2 separate regions of the Homo sapiens genome follow, and region 1 is linked to region 2. The links are contacts of gene promoters, found by promoter capture Hi-C in blood cells and fetal thymus (Javierre and others, 2016). All regions are on one chromosome and are shown on one strand. The core of a region is centred on a gene start or on the middle of the fragment in contact, and the rest is flanking DNA. Distances in the headings are between cores, read along the strand shown. Region 1 holds the start of ARMC3 (armadillo repeat containing 3). Region 2 holds the start of PIP4K2A (phosphatidylinositol-5-phosphate 4-kinase type 2 alpha).

The links. The method cuts DNA at HindIII sites, captures the fragments that hold promoters and counts their contacts. A CHiCAGO score of 5 or more calls a contact.
Region 1: a contact is called between the fragment with the promoter of ARMC3 here and the fragment with the promoter of PIP4K2A in region 2, in 16 of 17 cell types (M2 macrophages, total CD8 T cells, naive CD8 T cells and 13 more). The highest score is 13.8, in M2 macrophages.

The regions. Positions count from the first base shown.
Region 1 is chr10:22,925,211-22,932,801 of GRCh38, forward strand. It overlaps ARMC3 (armadillo repeat containing 3), which reads left to right and starts at 2,843. Exons shown (of 19, transcript NM_173081.5): 1 at 2,843-2,896; 2 at 6,786-6,834. The coding sequence starts at 6,787. The HindIII fragment of the contact is 5,434 bases long and covers 1-5,316 here.
Region 2 is chr10:22,712,175-22,719,264 of GRCh38, forward strand. PIP4K2A (phosphatidylinositol-5-phosphate 4-kinase type 2 alpha) reads right to left here and starts at 2,404. Exons shown (of 10, transcript NM_005028.5): 1 at 2,009-2,404. The coding sequence starts at 2,152. RefSeq lists silencers at 1,140-1,249, 1,550-1,669, 1,840-1,919, 2,220-2,889 and enhancers at 2,050-2,658, 2,659-3,266. The HindIII fragment of the contact is 12,209 bases long and covers 1-7,090 here.

The DNA of each region.
Region 1 (7,591 bases), core at 1,593-4,092, 210 kb after region 2:
AGCAACGAATGAGAAATGCTTCCCTCTGTCTGAAGAAGCTAATAAAGACTTTTTGGAGGAAATGATGACTAAGTTAAAATTTGAAAGATGAATAAGTGGTTTTCAGGCTGATTAGGGGAGTGAAGGGCTCAAAATGTCATGGTGTACTTGGAGAATGCTGAGCAGTTTGCTATATTTTTGAACAATGACAGAAGCTATTGTAGTAGGAAGCAGTCAGTCAGAACAAGAAAGATCTTGAGTGTCAATTTAAGAATCTTGTTGCATTTCATCATTTGTGTGTTAGAGCTATTGGAGCCAGCAAGGACACAGACAAATTAAATTTGCATCTTAGAATGATTACTTTGATTGTCTTGGAGAAGATGAATTGAAGCTAGGATGAGTCTAGAGGATGGAAGACCTGCCAGAAGGCTTGTTAGATGAATTCAGGTAAAGGACAGTGACTTTCTGTACTTGGGCTATGGGAATTGGAAGGTGAGAATAAATTCAAGAAACTTTTAGGGGAATCCAATAATTAACTGCATGAAAAGGAGAATAAGTCTAGGATGCCTGTCAGACTTGGTGGTCTGTTTGGGTAGAACACCTGTTGGTACCCCTAGATAAATGGAAAAACATGTCTATACTGGGAAAATGATGAGTTTAGGTGGGTAGTGTTGATGACTGAAGTGCCTGTGGGTATCCAGGTGGAACTGTGTAGCAAGTAGGATATATGGGTCTAGAGTTCAGTACCGGAGTCTGATGAGGAGCTACATATGTGCAATAGTTGAAGTCACAAATATAAATAAGATCACCTAGAAAAGCATATAGTGTGAAAAGAGAACAAGGGACAGATCCCTGGGAAATTTCAACATTTAAGATTCTGTAAAAAAACCACAATAGGGCATATATCCCTATAAAATCCCAGCTACTCAGGAGGCTGAGTCAGGAGGATTCCTTGAGGCCAGGAATTCAAGACAAGCCTGGGCAACATAGATAGACCCTGTTGTATAGAAAAGATCTTAAATGATGGTCATAAAAGAAAGTAGGAGGAAGATCAAGAGCAAGTAGTACCAAGGAAACCAAGAAAAGAGTTTCAAGAATGAGGTGTCATTGAGTATTATATACAGCAGCAATGTCAAGCAAGATGAGGGCTAAGAAGCATCCAATGGATATGGATAGTTTTAGTGCTGGGATGAAAACAGGTCACTATAGTCTGAAGAGTGAATAGGAAGTTAAAAATATGTAAGTATCTAATGCTGGCTACTTTTTTTGAAAAGTCATGACCAAGAAGAGAAAGAAAACAATAGGATAATAGTTAGAAGGAACAACAACATCAAAGGGATTTTATTTGTTTTTGCTTTTTAGATGAGGCATGGGAGGGGCTTCAACATAATTATATACCAACAGGAAAAAACGTGGAAGACAGGGAGAGGCTGAAAATACAGGTGTATATTATTCAAGGTCCAATCATATAACACTTGATGACGCTTATATTCTTGAAACTCCCTCCTTAGTTTCCTTGATGCTACTTGGTCTTAATCCTTTTCCTACTTTCATGACCATTACTTAAGATCTTTTCTATACAGAAGTCACACCGGATATTTGACCATGGAAAACTGAATACAAATAATTGTTATAAAGCTGTTTATCAGGCAATTTAAATGGTGAGAAGAGAACATAAGATATATAAAAGTAGCAATTATAAGAAGCATCTATCATTCTTAGGACTGGGAGACCAACAGGGGCCGGTAGGAGACGGAATTTGCAAAGTCTAAGAGGAGAGGGAGAGACTTTTTGCTAAAGGCAATCAAAAAATATTTTATGAAGATGGCATTTGAGCTGGGCTTAATTAAGTGGAAATGAGAGAATATTTCAGGTATTGCACATGACCTGGGAAATAGAAGCTACTTTATAAATATTTGTTGAAAAATGAAGTGATGAACAGATAAGCAAGAAAATCTAGAGAAAAGTGTGGAAAATTTCGGGAACAGTAAGTTTGGCTGGAGCTTGGATGGTGGAGATCGGTTGAAAATGTGGTTGCACAGATGGAGTAGAGATGGAGCAGACGGTCTTAAATTCCAGGCCAATGTGTTGAAAATTTATCTTAGGAAGCCGCTGACATTTGAGTAGGGAAGTGACAAGACTGGAACGATGATTTCTGGATGGCCGATTTGCCTGTGATACGTAGAAAGAACTGTAAGCAGAGAGCAACTGAATTTCTCAGCCAGAAGGCCAAAAAATGACGAGCTGGATTGAAGTGACAATAAGGATATGAGAAAGGGAACAAGCAGGAAACAAAATGTAAGCCGCCAAGAAGTGGCTGAAGTGATGACTGTGGTTGGGGGGCATGGGAGGAAGAAGGGAAATTGAAGCTCCTTCTGAGTCTAGGCAATTGGAAGAATGGCAGGAAGAGGAAAGAAAGAGGAAGAGAACGGGGCTTTGAAGGGCCATGAGAAGTTCTGTGGAAACGGATTGGACATCCTAGTGCAAAGAGATGTGGCAGTGCAGGTCTGCAGCTTAACGGAGCCTGGGCAGGAGGTGGCTGATGTGGGTTTCATCTGCATAGAGATTCCGGCTGACGCCTCTATTTGGAAGAATGCAATAGTATTTGCGTATTTGAACCCACAGCCAGTCCTTGGGCCAGAAACTGAGGCTGAACTGCCTCTTGATTTACAGCTTCCACCCCCAGTTTCCATTCTCCCCTAAAGCACTGGATTCAGGTAATCGCGGACGCACTTGGCTCCTCCCGCACTGGCCGCTGCCCTCGGCGGGACAATGGGCGCCCTAGCAGCCCCGAGCGTTCCCAGGGCGCAGGCGCGGCGCGGCGTGGCGTCGCCTAGCAACGAGGCACAACAAGGGACTGGGGGTTCGTCTGCTGGGTTTGCGGAGCAGCTAGCTACTCGGCGGGATCTCCCGGCAGGTAAAGGTAACCCCGTGGGGTGGGGAGGCCCAAGGCAGAGGCCTGAGGAAAACCTGGGAAAGGAGAAGGTGCCACGTGGGCGCAGACTGCTTGGGTCAGTGAGGCAACACCTTGCTGGGCGTTGTTAGTTTCTGCCTCGCGCCCGCAGGGTTAGACGGGGCTTGGGGTGGGTTTCGTAAGCATCCCGCCACCTCCCATTCAACAGGTGACAAAACTGAGGCCCGAGAGGGGATCTGAGGTGAGATCAAGTCAGATTCCGTTACTTGACTGTGAGCAACTCAGAAGTGGCCTCGATTTCTTGAGCCCTCCTCCTCTTTAAATCTTCTCAAAGCAGAACTCATTAGAAAATATTTAAAATCATAGGCTGAACGTTCACGAAGAACAAATACAAAGGACCAATCAACTCGTGAAAAAAAAAATGGCTCCAGTAGTCAAGAAGATGCATTTTTAGAGCAGAGTTGTTTGCATATCCAATGCCCTGAAGTTTTCACCCAGTTAATTTACTGCTAGAGATTTATCCTAAAGAAATAGTTGGGGATAATGGATGAAAATTTTATGTCCAAGGACGTTCTTTCAGCCCTGTCCATATTTCCAGAAAATTAGAAACAAATTTCAACAATCAGAGACTGGCTAGATAGCTAAGGGATTTTAAAATATTTGTAATGGCATGTTATGCTAATCCACTGGAGATTATTAAAGCAATGAAGGGAAACTGAGACTTCATGAATTTATTTGTTAATATAAGAATTTAGTAGGAATATGAACCCAGGAAGGGAAGGTGAAAGTAGGGGATAGAAGTTGAGGCAGGATGTTAAAATCACTTTAGAAAAACACACAAAGCCAGGTACGGTGGCTCACGCCTACAACCCCAGCACTTTGGGAGGCTGAGGCGGGTGGATCGCCTGAAGTCAGGAGTTCGAGACCAACCTGGTCAATGTGGGGAAACCTGTCTCTACTGAAAATACAAAAATTAGCCGAGCGTGGTGGCGGGTACCTGTAATCCCAGCTACTCAGGAGGCTGAGGCAGGAGAATCTCTTAAACCTGGGAGGTGGAGGTTGCAATGAGCCAAGATCAGGCCACTCTCCAGCCTGGGCAACAGAGTGAGACTCTGTCTCAAAAAAGAAAAAGAAAAAGAAAAAAAGAGAAGAGAGAGAGAGAGGGAGAGAGAGAGAGAGAAAGAGAGAGAGAAAGAGAAAGAAAAAGAAAAAGAAAGGAAAGGAAAGGAAAGGAAAGGAAAAGAAAAGAAATAGTATTGATCTCTCTGAGCTTATCTTTGGGTGATTTTTATTTTATTCGTTGTGCCCTTGTTTTCCAAATTCTCCACAGTGAAATGTATTACCCTTGTAAGGATCATCTCCATAGCTCATTGCCACCGACCTATGTCAGCTGTTCAGTCTCTCCTCCATTAACTATCATACCCAATATGGTGATAAAACACATAGGCTTTTTTTGGGGGAGGAGACAGAGTCTCGCTCTGTCACCCAGGCTGGAGTGCAATGGGGTGATCTCAGCTTATTGCAACCTCCGCCTCCCGGCCTCAAGCAATTCTCCTGCCTCAGCCTCCCCAGTAGCTGGGAATGCAGGCACATGCCACCGCCACTCCAGGCTAATTTTTGTATTTTTAGTAGAGACAGAGTTTTGCCATGTTGTCCAGGCTGGTCTTGAGCTCCTGACCTCAGGTGATCCACCCGCCTCAGCCTCCCAAAGTGCTGGGATTACAGGAGTGAGCCACCACGCCGGGCCATGATAAAACACATAGGCTTTTAACTTCATTCTTTAGCTTAGGAGACACTCTATCATTGCAATACTGTCTGTGTAAGCTCTTCTAACCTCTGCACTATGCAATTGCTCAAAAACACTATCCTGAAGTAGGAAAAATTAGTTCCTAAGTGAAAATCAGATGATTTAAAACAACTTTATGCAGGTGTAATTAAATTGCTTCCTGAATATTATTCATAAGCAATTATTTTATAAATCAAAGGCTGCTCTGTCTTGGAATTGGTTATAGAGTGCTATAAACTCTCTCTTTTTTTTTTCCTAGAGATTAATTGTAGGATAGATTCTCATTTGCCCAGAATAGTTTCTGCCTCTCTGCCTGAAATATTATAGGCACAAGGTCTAGGGCCTGTTCACTTTTCAAGCACCTAAGGAAGATGTTTGAGATTTGAAAAAAATGCTTATATTGGCTCTAAAATATGAAAAGAGAACTGAAAAATTAGTGTTAATTAAATGTTTTATTAATATAAATTTTTATTACATTTGAAAACAATTTTCTCATTTTACAAGAATTTCCAGGTGTATGTACTGATTGCTGAGTAATTTCAAATACAAATTTCAAAAGTTTTTATGATGCAAATGACATTTAATGGGCGATGCAGGCACATTTTAACATTTTAATATATTGGCTATTGTGTGAATAAGCTTGCCCAGGCCCTCCAAAGTCTTAAAAGTAGTGTGGTCTGAAGTTAGAGACCTAGAATAAATGCCTTTCAGAAGTATCTAGGAGTTTCTATGAAGACGTGGCTTTTTAATGTATGTGATAAATTCTGGTCAGTGTCTCTAATGCTAGGAGTTGCTTTTGACCCTTGACATGCAATTTGAGCTAACCCTGACACTGTAGATTCTCCCCAAGGATTTTCTACTTCCTAGGATTTCTACTGAGACTATGGTAATTTCCTTAAGGCTATGATATACCGTTTAAGATTGCTCCTACGATATACCGTTTAAGATGGCCCTGATGTCAAACATAATTCCACAAACTCTCACTGAAGAAAACTAGATAGATTTCCTGGGTTATTCTAATAGACATTAACATCTTGAAAAGTTTCTTTTTTTTTTTTGAGACAGTCTCACTCTGTTGCCCAGGCTGGAATGCAGTGGTGCGATCTCGGCTCACTGCAGCCTCCGCCTCCCGGGTTCAAGTGATTCTTGTGCCTCAGCCTCCTGAGTAGCTGGGACTACAAGGCACGTGCCACCACACCCGGCTAATTTTTGTATTTTTAGTAGAGACAGGATTTCACTGTGTTGGCCAGGATGGTCTTGAACTCCTGACCTCGTGATTCGCCCACCTCGGCCTCCCAAAGAGCTGGGATTACAGGCGTGAGCCACCTGCCCGGCCTGAAAAGTTCTTTGAACCCAGGCTGGTTACTCCTCTGTGGTATGTTAACTATGTATAAATTCCATTCCTTTCACTTTTTCCACACAGACATGGACATATGAGGACAAGTGGAAAGGAAGTAACCTCAGTTTCCCCAGAATATATCTCTTCAGATTTTTTAATTGCTTTTTTACTAAGCTGTGGATTATGAAAGAAAACTTTTTGTTATCCGGGCAAAGGACACAAATGTTGATTCAAGACCTGGTAGATTTTGTATACCATTTATGAGATCATTACTCCTAGGAAAAATGGAGTTAATGAGGTTTATAAATATCAAATGCCAATTATGTACCAGACACTGTTGTAGGTATTTAGGATAGATCAGTGCAAGAAAATAGACAAAAACCTCTGCCTTTGTGGCACAAACATTCTTGCAGGTCTCAAAAGTAACTTGGTGGGCTTAGTCTCTTAAGCCCATCATAAGCAAGCTATAAAAATGGTAAATGATTTCTTGTTATTTAAGTTATGCCACTAATATATTCACCTCCTTTCTAAACTGAAAGCCAGGACTAACACTCAATGATCTTATCAATAAGTTCCTTAAAATTGCAGAGTTTGAAATTGGGATGTAGGTGACATATTTGTACATATGTGATAATTTTTACATGTATTGCATTGTGTTTTAGGAGGTAAAAATTTAAAGGAGAAAATAAACCTCCTCTCAAGGGCACAGGTAATTGAGAAATGTATGTGCAAATGTCACTTTAACCATATATTGCATCTTTTTCCAGGATGGGTAAAAAGATAAAGAAGGAAGTAGAGCCTCCTCCTAAGGATGTGGTAAGTTTCTGATTTGAATACTAGTAGCACTTTAACAACCAGTTATAAAAATAAATTGTTCACACAGTTTGGCATGTACCAGTATATACATGAATACGCGGTGGCAGAAGTCCAAAGTCTGACTAATGATAAGATTAGTCAGAGAAATCTAACATTACATAAACAAACATTTACAACATTGTCATTATATAATTAGCACAATTAGAGAGTAATTATTAGCTTTTCCAGTATGTAGATGGCATGTTTATAGCATAGTTAATGAATAAATAGTTTGGGTTGTTCTTTTAAATACTTACCATTTACATTTGCCAGCCTCTCATTTATGTTAATTAATCAAGTGAATTTTCAAAAATAACTGGAAGTTCTGCTATAGCTATTAGATATGTATATAAGGTTGTCTGGTGATGACCACTGCACGTGAGAAGTCCCTATCCTTTCCAGTTCTATCGAGAGACTAGTCTGGCATCATCATTTTTATTCCAAATGCTAAGTAATTCATTCCCCACTGAAAGCTCTTCTCTGTCTTTAAAAACAGGATTTTATCTTCTCTCTTTAAACTTTATCAATTATTGAAAGGTTGTGTTAAAAGTGAAAAATGACCTTGGACAATTTGCAGTTTAGAAACTTATTTTGAAACAGACATTTGGTGTGATTTCCTTCAGATAAATCAGGAATAGAAAAGAAATAAGTGGAGTCCACAGACTCACAGCAATTTCAAATTTGAAGGAAACTGGGCTAATGGCAGAAATCTGCCCCC
Region 2 (7,090 bases), core at 1,154-3,653:
GTCATACACTATGAAACACTTAAGTAGTTTCAAAATATTTCCAATTAGCAAGAAACTCTAAAACAAATGTAGCAATTCATAAATATAAGGTAGCAACGTAAGTGGTTACAGTAAAACATACACAATTACAAGATTTTTTAAGGCAAACTGGAATTCAGACGAGTTCCCAGAAAGCACACTCTTTTTCGGCAGCATATTGTTGACACTACCTTACTAAATTAAACCCCGAGACAGAAACACTCTCCTGACCAAAACACCAGAACTCCAAAGGAGATAAAAGCACCATAAATATGAGTAAGCACTACAGTATTCATCCTTTTTTTAAATTGTAAGTTTCTATTCTAGTAATAAGGGACCCAAAAACTACTAACATAAATAATAAAAGAGCTTAACAAAATTATACATAACTCTACATTGTAAACTTATTACTTAGGAAAAATTGCATTTCATTTTCCGTAATAAAACTTGAGAGAGGAGTTTTTGGTGCAGTAATGCATGCTCTTGTAACAACTTACATTCCCAAATAGCTAAAGAAGTTGCCAGGAAGTTAAAATGAACTTCAGTGAGTCAGTCATTAAGCTGGATAAAAATAATCATTTCTCAACTTTTCCAAAAACACTCACTCCATGCAAACACGATCGATCCTGATACTGTTTTGCCCTTCCCCCTGCTCAGCTTGGGGAAGAAAAATACAAAAACGATGCTTTTAGGCATTTTAAACAACTTCACTACATTGAGGGTGTGTGTGTGTGTGTGTGTGTGTGTGTCTGTGTGTGTGTTTTCCGAAAAACCAGCATGGTTTTCTGTCATTTCCATTACGCTGAAAAGGACATACAGACATCCATCGAAATCAAAAGCAGGGAAAGCGAACTTACACTTTTCCCCAGATGCTAAGTGACTGCAGTGGCTAAGGTCATGGTCAAAATTCACAGCTCGTTTAAACTTTCCTGGCTGAGCCAACAGCTCCGATCATGTTTCCTGATCCTATCGAAGTGGATTAAAACTGCAGGAGTTTCTCGCTGTCAGATCAGCAGGAGGCTATTTCAGACCCTCGAACCGCAGTCCGCATAGCCCGCAGCGGCGCATCCTCCAATCCCCGACTGTGCGTGACGCTAACCTTTCCACGCGTTCTCCAGCCTTTCCCACACCCCCCACAGCGGGTGCGGCCAACTCGGGACCCCCTCCGCCCGCGCCCGCCGGGACCCCCGCCTGCTGTCCCCGCCCCGGCCGCCCTTCCGCAGTCGGTGACTTCTGCCTGACTCCCCAAAGTGGGGGGAGGCGACGAAGGGAGGAAGACTCCCCGCCAAGGGCTCTCCAGCCCGCACAGCGGCAGGGCGATGCGGGAGAAGCGCAGGGATGCCGCCCGACGCCAGAGCCATATTTACATCGGCTGCTGCTTTGCCAAAAAGCCGACTTGTGCCCAGTAATATTGCCTTTAAAGGAAAAAGAAAGGACCTAAGCACTAAAGCTGCTGCCCCAAATCTGCTCGCGCTCCGGTATCCTCGCCCCAGTGCCCCAGTGGGAGGCTCGCACGCGCCCAGCCCGGGACAGGTACACCTGCCCGCAAGCGGAAGACGCGGGCGCCGCGCGGCCCCCACACCGGGTAGCGGTCGCCCGGACCCGGCCCCCAGCAGCTCCCGCCGGGGCTGACAGCCGAGGCGCCGTGCCCCGCACAAACTTCCTACCTCCCAGGCTGCGGGGACCGACCTGCGGGCGGGCGGGCGGACCGGGGGCGGCACTGGCACCCACCGTGAGACTCACATGCACACGGGACCCCCGACCCGCACCGGGCCATAGATCTAAAGGGGACGCAAGTGGTGGTGCCTGGGCGGCCCAGAGGGCTGGGGGCACGCGCCGCGGGGCTGGGGGCTTCGAGGCGGGCGAGCAGCCGGAGGTCCAGGGCTGACTCCGGCTCCCCGCCCCGCAGCAGCTGCAGCCGGAGGAGGAGGGGAACGAGGAGGAAGAGGAGGAGGAGGAAGGGGACCGCGCGCCGCAGCTGAGCCCTTACCGAGTGGTTTACCCCCCACATGAGGACGCTGAGCAGCGGGTCGCTGGCCCGAAACAGCTTCACTTTCTGCGCTACGAAGTGCTTCTTCTTGGTCTTGGTCTTGCTCGCCAGGACAGAGGACCCTAGGTTGCCGGGGGTCGCCATGGCCGCCTCCTATGTCCCCTCCACCGCCGTGCTCCCGAGGCCGGGGACCCGCCCTCTCTACACCCCGGCCCGGGGAGGCAGCCGCATCCCCCCGGCGGCGGCCCCGGCGCGCCGCGCTCCGCTCCGCCCGCCGCCGCCGGCGCGCTCAGCCCCACTCGGCTCGCTCCGCCCGCTCGGCCCGGCAGACTGCGCTCGGCTCGCGCCCCGGCCCGTATCCTGCGCCCGCCGCGGATCCGCGCTCAGCCCGCGGCTGGACCCGGCGCGCGGCGAGCGGCTTCCGCGTTGGGCGCCGGCGTCATGACGCAGGGGGCGGGCGGGCAGGCGGGAGGCGGCTGCGGCGCCGCGGGCGGGGCACTGGGTGCGGGGCGCGGGGCGCGGCAGCTGGACCGTTAGGCTGCGCCTTCCCGCCCCGGCTCCGCTGCAGCCGGGCCGCCCCCTGTGCGCGGGCGACCTCCGGGCGTTCGCTCCCTGCCCGCGGAGGAGGCCGTGGGTTGCGAGCGGGAGCCTGGGGACCCCGGCTAGGCGTCCCCTGCCGCTCCCCAAGGAGGGAGAGGACAGAGTGGGCAGAGTGAGGAGGTTGGGGAGAGGAGCCCCCAGGCGTCGATCAGGCGAAGGAGGGAGGCTCATGCACTCACCCACGCCACGAGTCAGGAGACCCAGCCAGGTGTGAAATGCTGCAGGGAGACCAGGGCTTCCCAGCACCGAGGGGAAGGACCCGGGCACATTGCCGGGTCAGTCCCTGAAATGAACTTAATACTTTTGTGCGGATAACCGTCTGGCCTTTCAGACCCTCGATATGGGCCTCCTGGAGCCATTCAAGAGGGAGACTCCCACGTAATAGGCTGGGCTGTCACTGCCAACCCACTCCGTGCCCGGGGCAGGAACCTCGGACCTCATCGAGAGCCCTTGGCTTAACCAGTAGAATCATGCCCCAAAGTGCACCTTCTTCCAATCCATCACTATGGTACTTGCCATCCCTGCCTGTTTTCCAGTGCACTCACCGTCCGTGGAAATCTGTTCACCGTCTTCCTCCAGATACACCTAAATGTAGCCCTTATTATGCTGAGAATACTTGGCCTACCTCAGGAAGCTGCCATTCCAAGTATGTCTAAAACCCTGCTGCCCCCATATCGTCCTTGCAGTCGTCATCCTGTGCTATTTACTCTGACCCAGCTCACCAGTCCTCACGGAGTAGGTTCTTGGAAACTGTCACCTTAAGCAAAACAACATATAACAAAACCAAATTTGCCATAGGCTGACATATAAAAAAAGAGTTAAGTTCCTACAGCATTATTTCCGGTTACAAAAACATCACCGAACTTCAAAGTAAAAATTCAAAACACTTCTAATATTAAACATTAAAATAAATGTGAGCTATACCTCTTTTTTATTTTTATTTTTTCCCTTGAGATAGGGTCTCGCTGTGTCAACCAGGCTGGGGGTGCAGTGGTGCAATCACAGCTCACTGCAGGCTCTACTTCCCCAGACTCAGGTGATTCTCCCACTTCAGACTCCCCAGTAGTTGAGACTACAGGCGCGCACCACCAAGCCTGGATAAACTTCTTGTATTTTTGGTAGAGATGGGGTTTCACCATGCTGCCCAGGTTGGTCTCGAACTCCTGGGCTTAAGGAATCTGCCCACCTTGGCCTCCTAAAGTGCTGGGAATACAGGCACCAGCCACTGCACCTGGCCTACCTACATTTTTTAAAGATTGATAAAAACAAGATAATGGTTTGCCAAATTTCTAGTGATTAAGTGAGCGATGGTTGCTGTGGTGCTGGGTTAAGTCAAGGAATAAGTGTTTGCAAAGCAAAAGTTGCCTGTAGGACCTGCTGCTACCATGAAATTCAAAAACAATCACAAATATGGTAGCTGAGTGCACTCCTATCTCATTTATTGTCGTGCATTTTTATGATTAATGTACACTTACATATTTTTATTTTACAGTCATTTGTTTCACGGATTTATTCATTTTTCCAACTCATTTATTCCAGTTCAAGGTCACAGATAGTGGGAGCCTTATCCCAGCTGCTCAGCTTGGGCAAAAGGTGGGAACCATCCCTGGATAGGATGCCATTCTGTTGCAAGACACACACACACACACACACACACACACACACACCACACACACACACACACACCCCTACACTCACTTAAACTGGGACCATTTAGGAAGGGGGCAGTGATTCATGCCTGTAGTCCCAGCACTTTGGGAGGCATGAGGCAGGTGGACTGCTTGAGCCCAGGAGTTGGAGACCAGCCTGAGCAATATGGTGAAACCCCATCTCTACCATAAATACAAAAATTAACCAGGCATGGTGGTACACACCTGTAGTCTCAGCTATTCTGGAGGCTGCAGTAGGCGGATTGCTTGAGCCCAGGAGTTGGAGGCTGCAGTGAGCTGTGATAATGCCACTACACTCTAGCTTGGGTAATAGATGGAGACCCCGTCTCTTAAAACAAAAAAAAAAAAAGAAAAGAAAAACTACTGGTATCATGTAGACAAGCCTATGAACTGAACGTGCATGTCTTTAAGATGTGAGAGGAAACCAAGGTACCCAAAGAAAACTCTTGCAGGCACGAGGAGAACCTGCAAATACAAACAGTGGTCCCGGCTAGAAATCCATTTTTTTCTCATCAACATTATAACAAAACAACATTGAACAAAATGACAGTATTTGAGGACCCGCTGTAAGTTGTCTGTTGTCATTATTACTCCACTCAAATATAGTAGATACCTTCTGTGCCCTTGGCAGACTGCTTGGTCCTGTCAGGGAGATGAAGGATGACAGGCCATTATCCCTTTAGGATCTTGAGTCTCCTCAGGGGTTGAGGGGAGGTCATGTGGTCACCTTCATTTGCTCCTATTCTTTCTTTGACTGTTTTTTAAGTCCCCTCGTCGTAATTTCCTGCTTGCTTTCATCCAAAATGATATCTGCTTCTCCAGCATCAACCATCACTGCTCTTAGTGGTTTAAAAAAGCCCAAAACCTAAATTTTTAGTGAGACATCACGGGGACTGAGCTGTAGCTCTCCCACTTACTTGAGCAAATCACTTAACCTCTCCCAGCCTCGGGTTCTTTATGTTAACAGTAACTATCATCAGACACAAATGTCACTTTAGGAACTATTTTGAACCTAGTAATATAATCCTCCCCTACCTACATTATAGGATGTTTGTTAGAATCAAAATCAATAGTAGATAATGGCAATGAAAACCCTTTGTAAACCAGACAACACAATAGAAAATGTAGAGTGCTTGCAAGTAACTCATAAACTCTTCCCCGACCCCAGAGAAATGCCTGGTTGCACATTTGTACATCATTTTTCCACAGGCATCTTTTAAAAGTGTCTAAAACCATCTGGGCATGCTGGCTGATGCCTGTAATCCCAGCACTTTTGGGACGCCAAGATGGGAGAATCACTTGAGCCCAGGAGTTCAAGGGTAGCCTGGATATAATAGCGAGATCTCATTTCTACCAAAAAAAAAAAAAAAAATTTAAATTAGCTGCACATGGTGGTATGCATCCTGTGGTCTCAGTTACTTGGGAGGCTGAGGCAGGAGGATCACTGAGGCTGCAGTGAGCTATGACTGCACCACTGCACTCCAGCCTGGGCAACAGAGCAAGACCCTATCTCAAAAAAAAAAAAAAAGATATCTAAAGCCAAGTTTGACATCTTTCCCCATCCACAAGTTACTTTATTTCTTGTATTATATTGGAAATGGCATTCATATCACTCGGTTACCCCAGCTGGAAGTTCTTTTATTTAACAAATTTTCATTGGCCAGGCTTGAAGGCTTACCATCATCATCAATTATTGCCTTTCACCACCACCCAACCTAAACTCCTTTATTGGATCCTGCCCTTGAAAACAATTAGACTCAAAAATCCTCTCTTCCCTGATGCTTTCCTGATCCTCCTAATTCAAATTCATCCTTCCACCTCAGTGCTTCCATAGCATTTATTTGTTTCATAATAGCTATATTATACTTAATTTTATATTAATAATGCAAGACAATAGGCTTGCTGCAACTGCCAAAAAACTGAATTTAGTGATGACAGAGTGCTGAATGACCCTAGAGGAAGAGGGGATGGATACCTGTTGTTAGGAGAGGCTCCGCCTTAGGAAAGCAGCAATCTGTGGGTGGGTGCAGAGGCCAATAGCACCATGTGAGGGACAGATAGGGGCATAGTGTGGTATTTTTAGGTAGTTATGAGGAGACTTGCAGGTTTCAAAGGACAGAATTTCTGGTGATTTAACATGTTTTGAAAGCCATCTAACACAATACCATTCACAAATACATCATTAAATTATTTATTTATTTATTTTATTATTTATTTTTTTTGAGACAGGGTCTCACTCTGACACCCAGGCTGGAGTGCAGTGGCAAGAACACAGCTCACTGCAGCCTTGAACTCCTGACCTCAAGCCATCTCCTGCCTTATTAAATGATTTTGCCAATAACCTTTCACATTAGCTTTGTGCTCTGTGGAGGGTATGTGTGATGCAAGAGTTCTAGAGTCACAGAAATGACCTTAGCTCACGCCTGTCATCCCAGAGCTTTGGCAGGCCAAGGCAGGAGGATCGCTTGAGCCCAGGAGTTTGAGGTTACAGTGAGCTCTGATTGTGCCACTGCACTCCAGCCTGGGCAACAGAGTGAGACCGTCTCTAAAAATAAGAAAGAAAAGGAAAGAAGAACAAAGTGACCTCAAAATGTGTAATCCAATTCTCAAATTGTATGCATTCGATAGACAATTGATATCTAGAGAAATGTAATAAGTAATTTCTTGGGCAATAAGAAACTTTGAAGGCAAGGACCATGGTGTACCCACTTCTAGGGCGTCTCAGTGAACCCTGAATACTCCCTTTCCCATAGCACCCGTGGTGAAATTTTGGTGAATAAAGAAAAAAGGAATATTTTATCTCTCATAACAA